Linked DNA regions of Homo sapiens: regions 2 and 3 are each linked to region 1. The links are contacts of gene promoters, found by promoter capture Hi-C in human tissues and cell types (Jung and others, 2019). All regions are on one chromosome and are shown on one strand. The core of a region is centred on a gene start or on the middle of the fragment in contact, and the rest is flanking DNA. Distances in the headings are between cores, read along the strand shown. Region 1 holds the start of OIT3 (oncoprotein induced transcript 3). Region 2 overlaps P4HA1 (prolyl 4-hydroxylase subunit alpha 1). Region 3 overlaps P4HA1 (prolyl 4-hydroxylase subunit alpha 1).

Evidence for each region. The method cuts DNA at HindIII sites, captures the fragments that hold promoters and counts their contacts. A contact is called where the count stands out against the background at its distance.
Region 2: a contact is called between a fragment that was not itself captured here and the fragment with the promoter of OIT3 in region 1, in 3 of the 25 tissues and cell types used here (dorsolateral prefrontal cortex, mesendoderm cells and pancreas).
Region 3: a fragment that was not itself captured here is called in contact with the fragment with the promoter of OIT3 in region 1 in 1 of the 25 tissues and cell types used here (aorta).

Annotation. Positions count from the first base shown.
Region 1 is chr10:72,890,947-72,895,429 of GRCh38, reverse strand. It overlaps OIT3 (oncoprotein induced transcript 3), which reads right to left and starts at 1,691. Exons shown (of 9, transcript NM_152635.3): 1 at 1,571-1,691. The coding sequence starts at 1,631. The HindIII fragment of the contact is 12,875 bases long and covers 1-4,449 here.
Region 2 is chr10:73,022,404-73,026,731 of GRCh38, reverse strand. The region is part of intron 10 of P4HA1 (prolyl 4-hydroxylase subunit alpha 1); the gene reads left to right. Among named protein-coding and RNA genes, the nearest start is that of PLA2G12B, 70 kb to the right of the region's middle. The HindIII fragment of the contact is 5,177 bases long and covers 1-4,328 here.
Region 3 is chr10:73,089,851-73,094,166 of GRCh38, reverse strand. The region is part of intron 1 of P4HA1 (prolyl 4-hydroxylase subunit alpha 1); the gene reads left to right. Among named protein-coding and RNA genes, the nearest start is that of P4HA1, 4.9 kb to the left of the region's middle. The HindIII fragment of the contact is 7,132 bases long and covers 1-4,316 here.

The DNA of each region.
Region 1 (4,483 bases), core at 442-2,941:
CATTGAGCCAAATATCATCCTTGAGGAGCTGGGGGTTGGAGGAAAAGATCTGGGAAGGGCGATGGTATATGGAAAGAATGGGGAATATAGGAGGTACTAGAGGGAGAATAGGTAAGGAGAAGGGTGGGAAGAAAGGGGAGTGGAGATTTTCGGGAGGACAACTTTCTGAGCGACCCTTGGGTTAGTTATTGGCAGCAGATAGGGGGTGATTAATGACAGGTAGCTCAAGCATATTTTTTGGAATAGTTTTGGATTTACAGCATAATTGAGATGATAGGACAAAGAGATCCCACATACCCCACACCCAGTTTCCCTTGTTATGACACGTTACCTTTAGCCATACATTTACCACACATTGGCATGGTACCTTTGTCACATTAATGACCCACTATTGATACCTGATTATTAACTCAAGTCCACACTTATTCAGATTCCCTTAGTTTCCACCCATATCTTTCTGTTCCAGGATCCCACATTACCTTTAGGTGTCAGGTCTCCTTAGGGTCTCAAATCACCATTTTTATTTTTATTTTTATTTTTTTGAGATGGAGTCTCCCTCTGTTGCCCAGGCTGGAGTGCAGTGGTTCGATCTCGGCTCACTGCAACCTCCACATCCCGAGTTCAAGTGATTCTCCCGCCTCAGCCTCCCAAGTAGCTGGAATTACAGGCATGCAACACCATGACCATCTAATTTTTTTGTGTGTATGTATTTTTAGTAGAGACGGAGTTTCACCATGTTGGCCAGGCTGGTCTTGAACTCCTGACCTCAGGTGATCCACCCGCCTTGGCCTCTCAAATGCTGGCATTACAAGTGTGAGCCACCGTGCCTGGCCACAAGCCTATTTTTAATGTGTATCCTTTCAGGTACTAGAGCAACCATGAAGAAATAAGCCAGGGTCAATTAGATACTGAGCTACTCAAAAGTGTCAAGAAGGATGGTTCTCTCCATCTCACCCCCACCCTCTGTTCCAGTTAGTACTCACATTCTACTAGAAAAAGATGCAAGAGAGAAATCTGTTAGTAACTGGAATTGAAACTTTTCTTTGCCTGACTGGCCAGTTTTGCACCAAGCCTGAGGAGGGAGACAATTTAAGATTCACTCGATCTGTGCAAAAAGTCTTATTTTCTGACATAAAGACTAATGAGTTTGGTTTATCCAGATCTGTGCCCCCCATGGCAACAGAGCTTTCAGTCCCTTGCCTTCATTAAAGAAAAATTCTATGCTCAACTTTAATTTTTTTTTTTTTGGCTCTTCAAGTTGGAACTATAAAGTGCCTAGAACACAAAGAAGATAGAATTATTTTTACACATACTCCAGGAACTCTTTAGCTAGTGAAAGCTGTGGGATATGGCAGATCCATGGAAATTTTGGAGTCCAGGCAAGAGGCTAAATGGAACATGTAACAGAAATTCTCGGGAAATCTATTTTCAAGGATTATTAGGGACTTTTCTTACAAGATTCTAGAGCTAGCATTTAAGGTACTGGAATCTAGTTCTTAATCATCTGTACATTATAGCAAATTGCCACAACAAAAAGTGCATTGTGCCAAGTTCTTGACATGAGACTCACCCACGGGTGACACGGAGGTGCCTGTGATGAAGAGGCAGGTGAGAAGCAGGAATGGAGGCATCCTTCTGGACCAACTGCCAGAAACACTGGAAAATCCTCTTAATACTGGTGTTCCTTTGTCCCCTTCTCTTTCAAGCACTTTTTTTTTTAAGGCCTCTAGGCTCTCACGAGAAAGACTTTATCAGCACTGGTAGGGGCTTTATCAGAGGAAGAGGATGAGGATGAGTGGGATAAGGTGTCCACAGCTCTGGCCTTGGCCCCAGAGAGAAGCACTGCTTTACACTGTCAACAGGGTTCCTTTATTAATAGTTTTCTTTAGGAAAAAAAAAAAAAAACACAACTCACAATCCCTCATCCTCCTATTGTTTTCTCTCAAGAATTCCCTGCAATGAAACCCCAGTATCTTATCCAGAAGGGAATTCTAAATGAGGGACATCCCTTCACGTCAAATTCTTGCTTTGTGACTTCTAGGAATTGATTTCACAATGTTGCAGCCATAGCACTGCACACTAAACGAGAATGGATGAAGCCAAATCACTGCAACTGTCTTGGTCAGATGGTTGAGGAGCTTATAATAGCACACAAAACAAAGTAGTAAGGACAGGTATGAGACAAGGACAGTATTCTCTTGAAATAAGCTCCTGAGTTTGTTTTATTACGGTCTTTGGCCTCAAAACTTCTGAAAGAAACAAGGTTTAAATTGTGTTTTTACTAATTCAAGCAGCAATACCTCATATTTTTATTGTCTTTACTCCCAAAATTAAAAAATGGTTTAATGTTATTTATTTCACTAATTCTCACATTAAGATGGGGTAGGAGCTTAAAATTAGAAACTACTCATTAAATTAACACTCTGGAAAATTAAATGTCAAAATTTCCTGAAGTTTCACTTTTAGACAAAGGAGAGAAAATGTGCTTCTTAGCACAATTTTTTTTTTCAGACGGAGTCTTACTCTGTCGCTCAGGCTGGAGTGCAGTGGTGTGATCTCGGCTCATTGCAAGCTTCGCCTCCCGGGTTCACGCCATTCTCCTGCCTCAGCCTCCCAAGTAACTGGGACTATAGGCGCCCACCACCACGCCCAGCTAATTTTTTTGTATTTTTAGTAGAGACAGGGTTTCACTGTGTTAGCCAGGATGGTCTCGATCTCCTGACCTCGTGATCCGCCTGCCTTGGCCTCCCAAAGTGCTGGGATTACAGGTGTGAGCCACCGAGCTCGGGCAATCACTGGTTTTTGACAATGACAAAAGTACACATGGTCTCCAGAAGCACAGGGTTTATGGTCAAGCAAGGGGTTTCCATTGATCTAAAATTGTAGTTAGCTACTTCATTACTAACATCAGTGGGACACAGGCAATTTGACCATTAACTTATTAAGTTGTGGTTTGATGGCAGCAATGGATGACTCTGCTGTCTCATTGCAGGATAGTGTTGCTAAGTATCAGTGCTTTAAACAGAAAAAACAATCCCCCACAACTTCCTGCGCCTAGGAAGCCATCTGAGGGCTTCATATGTGTTGCAGAGAAACAGAGGACGTGTGCATGAGATAAACCCAGACTTGTTGCCAGGATTGATTGCTGGAGTCAAGGACTTTCACCAGATAGCCTTTGGTTCTGTAAACAAGAATTCCCAGGATGGTAAGATGTTTTTTCCCCCTTATTTCTATTTTTTCCTTTTTAGTTGACCTGCTCTTTCATTTTTTACTTTTTATGATGAAAAATTTCAAATATATATACAAAAGTATAAAGAACAATAATGAACACTCAGCTATAATAATTACTAACATTCTATCAATTTCATTTACATACCAGTATGCATTTCTAACACATTGTATTTTTTTACATAATCATGATGCTTTTATTACAACTATGAAAATTAGTAATAATTCCTTAACTCATATCCAATCCATATTTAAATTGCTCCAATAGTTCCAAATATTCCTTTTATTGCTGGGTTGAGTCAGGATCCAAACAAGATTTATATATTGCATTTTGATTGTCACTTAAATTTATTTTTATCAGCTGGGTGCAGTGGCTCACACCTGTAATCCCAGCACTTTGGGAGGCCAAGGTGGGTGGATCACCTGAGGTCAGGAGTTCGAGACCAGCCCGGCCAACATGGTGAAACCCCATCTCTATTAAAAATGCAAAACTAGCCAAGTGTGATGGTGCACGTCTGTAATCCCAGCTTCTTGGGAGGCTGAGACAGGAAAATCACTTGAACCTGGGAGGCAGAGGTTACAGTGAGCCGAGATTGTGCCACTGGACTCCAGCCTAGGCAACAGAGGGAGACTCCGTTTCAAAAAAAAAATATATATATATATATATATTTTTATCCATAATGGTCTTCCCCCCTTCCTTCCATTTGTTGAAGAAACCCCATCATTTGTCCTACAGAATGTTCCACGTTTTGGGTTTGGTGAATTGCTTCTTTGTGGTGTCTTGTAGTCTTTCCTCCCCCATATTTAATGTTAATGCTTGTTCATATGTTACAATTTTTCTAAATTATGTGCTATTAGAATTTAAAAACAAAAATACTCTGGTGACATTGAGAGAATTTAATGTACAGAAGGCAATGCTAGAAATAGACCAGTTACGAAGAGGATAAATCAGTCTAGGATATATCTGAGCTAGAGTAACAATTTGAGAGCTACCAACATATAAATGGTAATTTAAATAGGGGAGAGGGGTGAGATCACACCCATGGAAAATGGGGTCCAAGATGGAACCTTGGGGAAGCCTAATATCACAGATGTGGGCAGAGGAATAGGACGCTGTAAAGGAGACCAAGAAGTAGTCACAGATTTACGAACGGAAACCCAAGGGTGGAGTCACAGGAGCTGAAGTTCAAGGAGGAGGGGTTGCTCAGTGAATGATGCATTTATAAAATATTAACATTTATCAAATAAGTATTTT
Region 2 (4,328 bases), core at 1,337-3,836, 130 kb before region 1:
ATCTGGATATCAGCCATTTGTCAGATGGGTAGATTGCAAAAATTTTCTCCCATTCTGTAGGTTGCCTGTTCACTCTGATGGTAGTTTCTTTTGCCATGCAGAAGCTCTTTAGTTTAATTAGATCCCACTTGTATATTTTGGCTTTTGTAGCCATTGCTTTTGGTGTTTTAGTCATGAAGTCCTTGCCCATGCCTATGTCCTGAATGGTATTGCCTAGGTTTTCTTCTAGGGTTTTTATGGTTTTAGGTCTAACATTTAAGTCTTTAATCCATCTTGAATTAATTGTTATATAAAGTGTAAGGAAGGGATCCAGTTTCAGCTTTCTACATATGGCTAGCCAGTTTTCCCAGCACCGTTTATTAAATAGGGAATCCTTTCCCCATTTCTTGTTTTTGTCAGGTTCGTCAAAGATCAGATGGTTGTAGATGTGTGTTGTTATTTCTGAGGCCTCTGTTCTGTTCTATTGGTCTATGTCTCTGTTTTGGTACCAGTACTATGCTATTTTGGTTACTGTAGCCTTGTAGTATAGTTTGAAGTCAGGTAGCATGATGCCTCCAGCTTTGTTCTTTTGGCTTAGGATTGTCTTGGCTATGTGGGCTCTTTTTTGGTTCCATATGAACTTTAAAGTAGATTTTTCCAATTCTGTGAAGAAAGTCATTGGTAGCTTGATGGGGATGGCATTGAATCTGTAAATTACCTTGGGCAGTATGGCCATTTTCACGATATTGATTCTTCCTATCCATGAGCATGGAATGTTCTTCCATTTGTGTCCTCTTTTATTTCGTTGAGCAGTGGTTTGTAGTTCTCCTTGAAGAGGTTCTTCACATCCCTTGTAAGTTGGATTCCTAGGTATTTTATTCTCTTTGTAGCAATTGTGAATGGGAGTTCACTCATGATTTGGCTCTCTGTCTGTTATTGGTATATAGGAATGCTTGTGATTTTTGCACATTGATTTTGTATCCTGAGACTTTGCTGAAGTTGCTTATCAGCTTAAGGAGATTTTGGGCTGAGACAATGGGGTTTTCTAAATATACAATCATGTCATCTGCAAACAGGGACAATTTGACTTCCTGTTTTCCTAATTGAATACCCTTTATTTCTTTCTCTTGCCTTATTGCCCTGGCCAGAACTTCCAACACTATGTTGAATAGGAGTGGTGAGGGAGGGTATCCTTGTCTTGTGCCGGATTTCAAACAGTGCTTCCAGTTTTTGCCCATTCAGTATGATATTGGCTGTGGGTTTGTCATAAATAGCTCTTATTATTTTGAGATATGTTCCATCAATACCTAGTTTACCGCATTTTCAGCATGAAGGGCTGTTGAATTTTGTCAAAGGCCTTTTCTGCATCTATTGAGATAATCATGTGGTTTTTGTCATTGGTTCTGTTTATGTGATGGATTACGTTTATTGATTTGTGTATGTTGAACCAGCCTTGCATCCCAGGGATGAAGCTGACTTGATTGTGGTGGATAAGCTTTTTGATGTGCTGCTGGATTCGGTTGGATTTTTGCGTCGATGTTCATCAGCGATATTGGCCTAAAATTCTCTTTTTTTGTTGTGTCTCTGCCAGGCTTTGGTATCAGGATGATACTGGCCTCATAAAATGAGTTAGGGAGGATTCCCTCTTTTTCTGTTGATTGGAATAGTTTCAGAAGGAATGGTACCAGCTCCTCTTAGTACCTCTGATAGAATTCGGCTGTGAATCCATCTGGTCCTGAACTTTTTTTAGTTGGTAGGCTGTTATTGCCTCAATTTCAGAGTCTGTTATTTTTCTATTCAGAGATTCAACTTCTTCCTGGTTTGGTCTTGGGTGTATGTGTCCAGGAATTTATCCATTTCTTCTAGATTTTCTAGTTTATTTGCATAGAGGTGTTTATAGTATTCTCTGATGGTAGTTTGTATTTCTGTGGGATCTGTGGTGATATCCCCTTTATCATTTTTTACTGTGTCTATTTGATTATTCTCTCTTTTCTTCTTTATTAGTCTTGCTAGCTGTCTATCAATTTTGTTGATCTTTTCAAAAAACCAGCTCCTGGATTCATTGATTTTTTGAAGGGTTTTTTATGTCTGTATCTCTTTCAGTTCTGCTTTGATCTGAGTTATTTCTTGCCTTCTGCTAGCTTTTGAATTTGTTTGCTCTTGCTTCTCTTGTTCTTTTAATTGTGATGTTAGGGTGTCGATTTTAGGTCTTTCTTGCTTTCTCTTGTGGGCATTTAGTGCTATAAATTTTCCTCTACACTGCTTTAAATGTGTCCCAGAGATTCTGGTACGTTGTGTCTTTGTTCTCATTGGTTTCAAAGAACATGTTTATTTCTGCCTTCATTTCGTTATTTACCCAGTAGTCATTCAGGAGCAGGTTGTTCAGTTTCCATGTAGTTGTGTGGTTTTGAGTGAGTTTCTTAATCCTGAGTTCTAATTTGATTGCACTGTGGTCTGAGAGACAGTTTGTTGTGATTTCTGTTCTTTTACATTTGCTGAGGAGTGCTTTACTTCCAATTATGTGGTCAGTTTTAGAATAAGTGTGATGTGGTGCTGAGAAGAATGTATATTCTGTTGATTTGGGGTGGACAGAGTTCTGTAGATGTCTATTATAATGGTCTGCTTAGTGCAGAGCTGAGTTCCAGTCCTGGATATTCTTGTTAACCTTCTGTCTTGTTGATCTCATATTGACAGTGGAGTGTTAAAGTCTCTCATTATTATTGTGTGAGAGTCTAAGTCTCTTTTTAGGACTCTAAGGACTTGCCTTATGAATCTGGGTGCCCCTGTATTGGGTGCATATATATTTAGAATAGTTAGCACTTCTTGTTGAATTGATCCCTATACCATTACGTAATGGCCTTCTTTGTCTCTTTTGATCTGTGTTGGTTTAAAGTCTGTTTGATCAGAGACTAGGATTGCAGCCGCTGCTTTTTTTTTTTTTTTTCTTTCCATTTGCTTCGTAGATCTTCCTCCATCCCTTTATTTTGAGCCTATGTGTGTCTCTGCACATGAGATGTGTCTCCTGATGGGTCTTGACTCTTTATCCAATTTGCCAGTCTGTGCCTTTTCATTGGGACATTTAGCCCATTTACATTTAAGGCTAATATTGTTATATGTGAATTTGATCCTGTCATTATGATGTTCGCTGGTTATTTTGCTCGTTAATTGATGCGGTTTCTTCATAGCATCGATGGTCTTTATAATTTGGCATGTTTTTGCAGTGGCTGGTACCAGTTGTTCCTTTCCATGTTTAGTGCTTCCTTCAGGAGCTCTTGTAAGACAGGCCTGGTGGTGACAAAATCTCTCAGCATTTGCTTGTCTGCAAAGGATTTTATTTCTCCTTTATTTAGAAAGCTTAGTTTGGCTGGATATGAAATTCTGGGTTGAAAATTCTTTTTTTTAAGAATGTTGAATATTGGCCCCCACTCTCTTCTTGCTTGTAGGGTTTCTGCAGAGAGATCCACTGTTAGTCTGATGGGCCTCCCTTTGTGGGTAACCCGACCTTTCTCTCTGGCTGCCCTTAAGATTTTTTCCTTCATTTCAGCCTTGGTGAATCTGACAATTACGTGTCTTGTGGTTGCTCTTCTCGAGAAGTATCTTTGTGGTGTTCTCTGTATTTCTGAATTTGACTGTTGGCCTGCCTTGCTAGGTTGGGGAAATTCTCCTGGATAATTTCCTGAATAGTGTTTTTCAGCCTGTTTCCATTCTCCCCGTCACTTTCAGGTGTACACCAATCAAACATAGATTTGGTCTTTTTAGATAGTCCCATATTTCTTGGAGGCTTTATTTGTTTCTTTCTACTCATTTTTCTCTAAACTTGTCTTCTTGCTTTATTTCATTAATTCCATCTTCAATCACTGATACCCTTTGTTCCACTTGATCAAATCGGCTACCGAAGCTTGTGCATGCACCATGACGTTCTTATGCCATGGTTTTCAGCTCCATCAGGTCATTCAAGGTCTTCTCTACACTGTTTGTTCTAGTTAGCCATTCGTCTAACCTTTTTTCAAGGGTTTTAGCTTCCTTGCGATGGCTTAGAACATGCTTCTTTAGCTGGGAGGTTTGTTATTACCGACCTTCTGAAGCCTACTTCTGTCAGCTCATCAAAGTCATTCTCTGTCCAGCTTTGTTCTGTTGCTTGTGAGGAGCTGCAGTCCTTTGGAGGAGAGGAGGTGCTCTGATCTTTAGAAGTTTCAGCTTTTCTGCTCTGGTTTCTCCCCATCTTTGTGGTTTTGTCTACCTTTGGCCTTCGATGTTGGTGACCTACAGATGGGGTTTTGGTGTAGATGACCTTTTTGTTGATGTTGATGCTATTCCTTTCTGTTAGTTTTCCTTCTAACAGTCAGGTC
Region 3 (4,316 bases), core at 1,124-3,623, 200 kb before region 1:
TAGTCTGTGAAAGTATATCACATTGCATGCCCTCTCCTATATATGGTAACTTAACTTTGGTTTTCCATTCTGAAAGTGGAACAGGCTTGGAAGTAAACAAAAATAAATTGCATAGGCTCTTGGCATTAAACTTTATTGCTTTTCTTGCAGTGAGATCTTGAATCTTGTAATTAAACCATAATGTGTTGTGTGTGTATAAATATATGAATATATATAAAAAATCCAAATAAAATGAGTATGTGTGTGTGTGTGTGTGTGTATATATATATATATATATATATATATATATATATTTTTTTTTTTTTTTTTTTTTTTTTTTTTTTTGAGATGGAGTTTCACTCTGCCACCCAGGCTGGAGTGCAGTGGTGCAATCTCGGCCCACTGCAAGCTCCACCTCCCGGGTTCACGCCATTCTCCTGCCTAAGCCTCCCGAGTAGCTGGGACTACAGCCGCCCACCATCACGCCCAGCTAATTTTTTGTATTTTTAGTAGAGACGGGGTTACACCGTGTTAACCAGGATGGTCTCGATCTCTTTACCTCGTGATCTGCCCGCCTTGGCCTCCCAAAGTGCTGGGATTACAGGTGTGATCACGCCACCGTGCCCGGCCAAAGCTTTGTGTTTCTATTCAAGAAAATTTATTTGTATAAATTGAAGCTGTCCTGTCATTAGGACAGCTTCAGTTTCTCTAGTTGAATAAGTATTGTACCTAAAGAAAAGCTTTGGCAATTCAAAAGGACTCTCATTTAGGTTACTCCAGCAGTTTTTAAACTCGGTGTGGTGAAAAACATTCTTTTTCCTGGTCTTCCTTTGGATGATCAGTATGACTGTTAGTATATTTGATTTGACATTTGCTAAAAATACATTATAGAGATTCAGACTTCTTACCTAGTTGTCATCAGTGAATGAGTTCTATATTGGGCCTTTCTCTTCCTCATGTTTAGTGTTTCATAAAAATGTGTCCATATTACTCATTTCTTTCTTAAATAGTAATATTATGTGGAATTAGTACACTCAGCCTTACTCTCTCTTTTTTTTTTTTTTTTAAGAGATAGGATCTTGCTCTGTTGCCCAGGATGGAGTGCAGTGGTGTGACCATAGCTCACTGCAGCCTTGAACTCCTGGGCTCAAGCAATCCTTCTGCCTCAGCCTCCGGGTGTAGCTCGGGGTACAGATGCATGCCACCATGTCTAGCTAATTTTTTAATTTTTTGTAGAGATGGGATCTTGCTCTGTTGACCAGGCTAGTCTCGAACTCCTGGCCTCAAGTGATTCTCCCATCTGCCCCACAAAGTGTTGGGATTATAGGTGTGAGCCACCATGCCTGGTCATCCTTACTCTCTTGTTGGACACTTGAGCTGTTTCTCCATTATAAGTAGTGCAAAGAGAGGACTGTAATTTAGTGGTTTATTTTATCAACCTGTATAATTACAGTAAACTTTAACCAATTTTTTAATTTTTAAATTTATATTTAAATTTTTTTTTTTTTAGAGACAGGGCCTTACTATGTTGCCCAGGCATGGTGGCTCACACCTGTAATCACAGCACTTTGGAAGGCCGAGGCAGGAGGATCACTTGAGGCCAGGAGTTCAAGACCAGCCTGGTCAGCATAGTGAGACCCCATCTCTCTACAAAAAAAATTTTTTTTTAATTAAGGGGGCATGAGGTTGCATGCATCTGTAGTCTAACTACTTGGGAGGCTGAGGTGGGAGGGTCGCTTGAGCCCAAGAGTTGGAAGCTGCAGTGAGCTATGATAGCACCATTGCACTCTAGCCTGGGTGAGAGTGCAAGACCCTGTCTCTAAAAAAAAAAAAAAAAAAAAGAAAAGAAAAAAAAATTATTTACAATATGGCCAGTAGACTGTAGGAAAATCAAGAATGATGAGAAATGTTTCATAGGAGAAGTAGGACATAAAAATTACATGATATAGCACCATGTGGCTAACATTTTACTAGATATTAAATCTGTAGCACTGAATGGAAATGCATATCTAGATTCACATCCTCTACAACCATGAATTCATTTTTCCCTGTTCTAGTATACATGGTCTTATTTTGTCTCTCTTTACCTCAACTTGAGAAATTTGGATCTGGCATTAGAGTAAACAGATAATTGAAGACTAGAAAGAGGTAGACTGGGTGGAAATAAAAGTGGAATTTTGACAGAATAGCCTTGGGAGGGATGAAGCTGAGTATACCTGGGCCTCAGAGCAATAATCCATTTTTTAGGAGGAAAGGGACTGCTAAAGCCAGCTTTTGAGTATTCTACTCTGACCTGAGTGGCCTTGGTCTGAATAGCTCATGTTCAGAGATAAGAGTATATTTAACTTTTTTGTACTAAGAATAGTATTTGAGTAATGTTATAGGTACATATGAGAATTTGGCCTTCATCTCTGCCGAGTCAGTTAAACACAAGTTTCTCTAGATATTTCCATTACAAGAATCAAAGCTCTTTGATTTTTGGAACTTCAGTAAAACCCAAGAATGAATAGCCGAGAACTATCATACAAGTCATAAAATTAAAAGGCATTGAACAGTGTATGAAGCATCAGATATCCTGTTACATGTGTCTGCAACAATAAATTAAATATTGATTAACTGATTTTAAGTAGGCTCAAGACTTCTCTTACAGTTCTAATCTTATATTAACTAGATTTGCATATCTAATTTCTCCAAAAATATGATCAAGAAATGTTTATTTTAGTCTAGGCGTGGTGGCTCACATCTGTAATCCCAGTGCTTTGGGAGGCTGAGGTGGGAAGATCTCTGGAGCCCAGGAGTTCAAGGCTGCTGTGAGCTCTGATTGTTCCACTCCACTCCAGCCTGGGTGACAGAGCCAGACCCTGTCTCAAAAAAACAAAAAAAGTTGGTATTTCTAAAACCTACTGGTTGAATTTAGGACCTCAAAATGTTACTTGTGTGTGTGACCTTTGTTCTTGCCCTATGGTTCTGACAACCTTCCTCCTTTTTATTTATTTATTTATTTATTTATTTATTTTTTTGGTAAACTCAGGCAACATATTCATAGTCAAAGGTTACATGAAGACATTCTCAAATTTACATGATTTCAAAATTTAGTTACTTCTTTTTTTTTTTTTTTTTTTTTTTTGAGATGGACTCTCACTCTGTCACCCAGGCTGGAGTGCAGTGGCGCAATCTCGGTTCACGGCAACCTCTGCCTCCTGGGTTCAAGCAATTCTCTGCCTCAGCCTCCCGAGTAGCTGGGATTACAGGCACCCGCCACCACGCCCGACTACTTTTTTGTATTTTTAGTAGAGACAGGGTGTCACCATCTTGGCCGGGCGGGTCTCGAACTCCTGACCGGGGGTGATCCATCAGCCTCGGCCTCCCAAAGTGCTGGGATTACAGGCATGAGCCACCGCACCTGGCCTGCAGTTACTTCCTTTAACCTCAAAGATATTTTGAAAATAGACCTCAATTTACTATGCCTGAATTTAAAAAACCTTAATATTGTATTTGAAAATAGTGAATAGTGACCATTGCCACCAAGTAGAGTGATAGTAATAAGTAAAACACTAATCTTTGATATAAGGGTGATTACTAATAAATTGAATAAACTGATATATTTTAACGACTTTATTGAGCAAAATTGACAGGACAAATTGCATATATTTACAGTGTACAATTTGATAAATTTGACAAAAATATCTACTTAAAAAAATATCAGTACAATCAAGATAAGGAACATATCCATCACCTTCAAGAGTATCCTCAAGGTCAGGCACAGTGGCTTAGGCCTGTAATCCCAACCCTTTGGGTGGCCGAGGCAGGAGGACTGCTTGAGCCCAGGAGTTCCAGACCAGCCTGGGCGACATAGAAAGACTTCATCTCTACACAAAATAAAATAACATTAGCTGGGTGTGATGGTGCCTGCCTGTAATCCTAGCTACTTGGGAGGCCGAGGCAGGAGGATTGCTTGAGCTGGGGAGGTTGAGTCTTCAATGAACTGTGATTGTGCTACTGTACTCCAGCCTGGTGACCGAAATGAGTCTCTGTCTCAAAAAAGAGTATACTTGGCCAGGCGCAGTGGCTCACACCTGTAATCCCAACACTCTGGGGGGCCGAGGCAGGAGGACTGCTTGAGCCCAGAAGTTCAAGACCAGCCTGCGCAACATGGTAAAACCCTGTCTCTACAAAAAAATTAAAAAGCCAGGTGTGGTGTTGTGTGCCTGCAGTCCCCGCTACTTGGGAGACTGAGGTGGGAGACTCACCCAAAGCCTGGAGATTAAGGCTGCGGTGAGCCAAGATCACGCTACTGCACTCTAGCCGGGGCATCGGCAGTATCCTTATGACTTTTT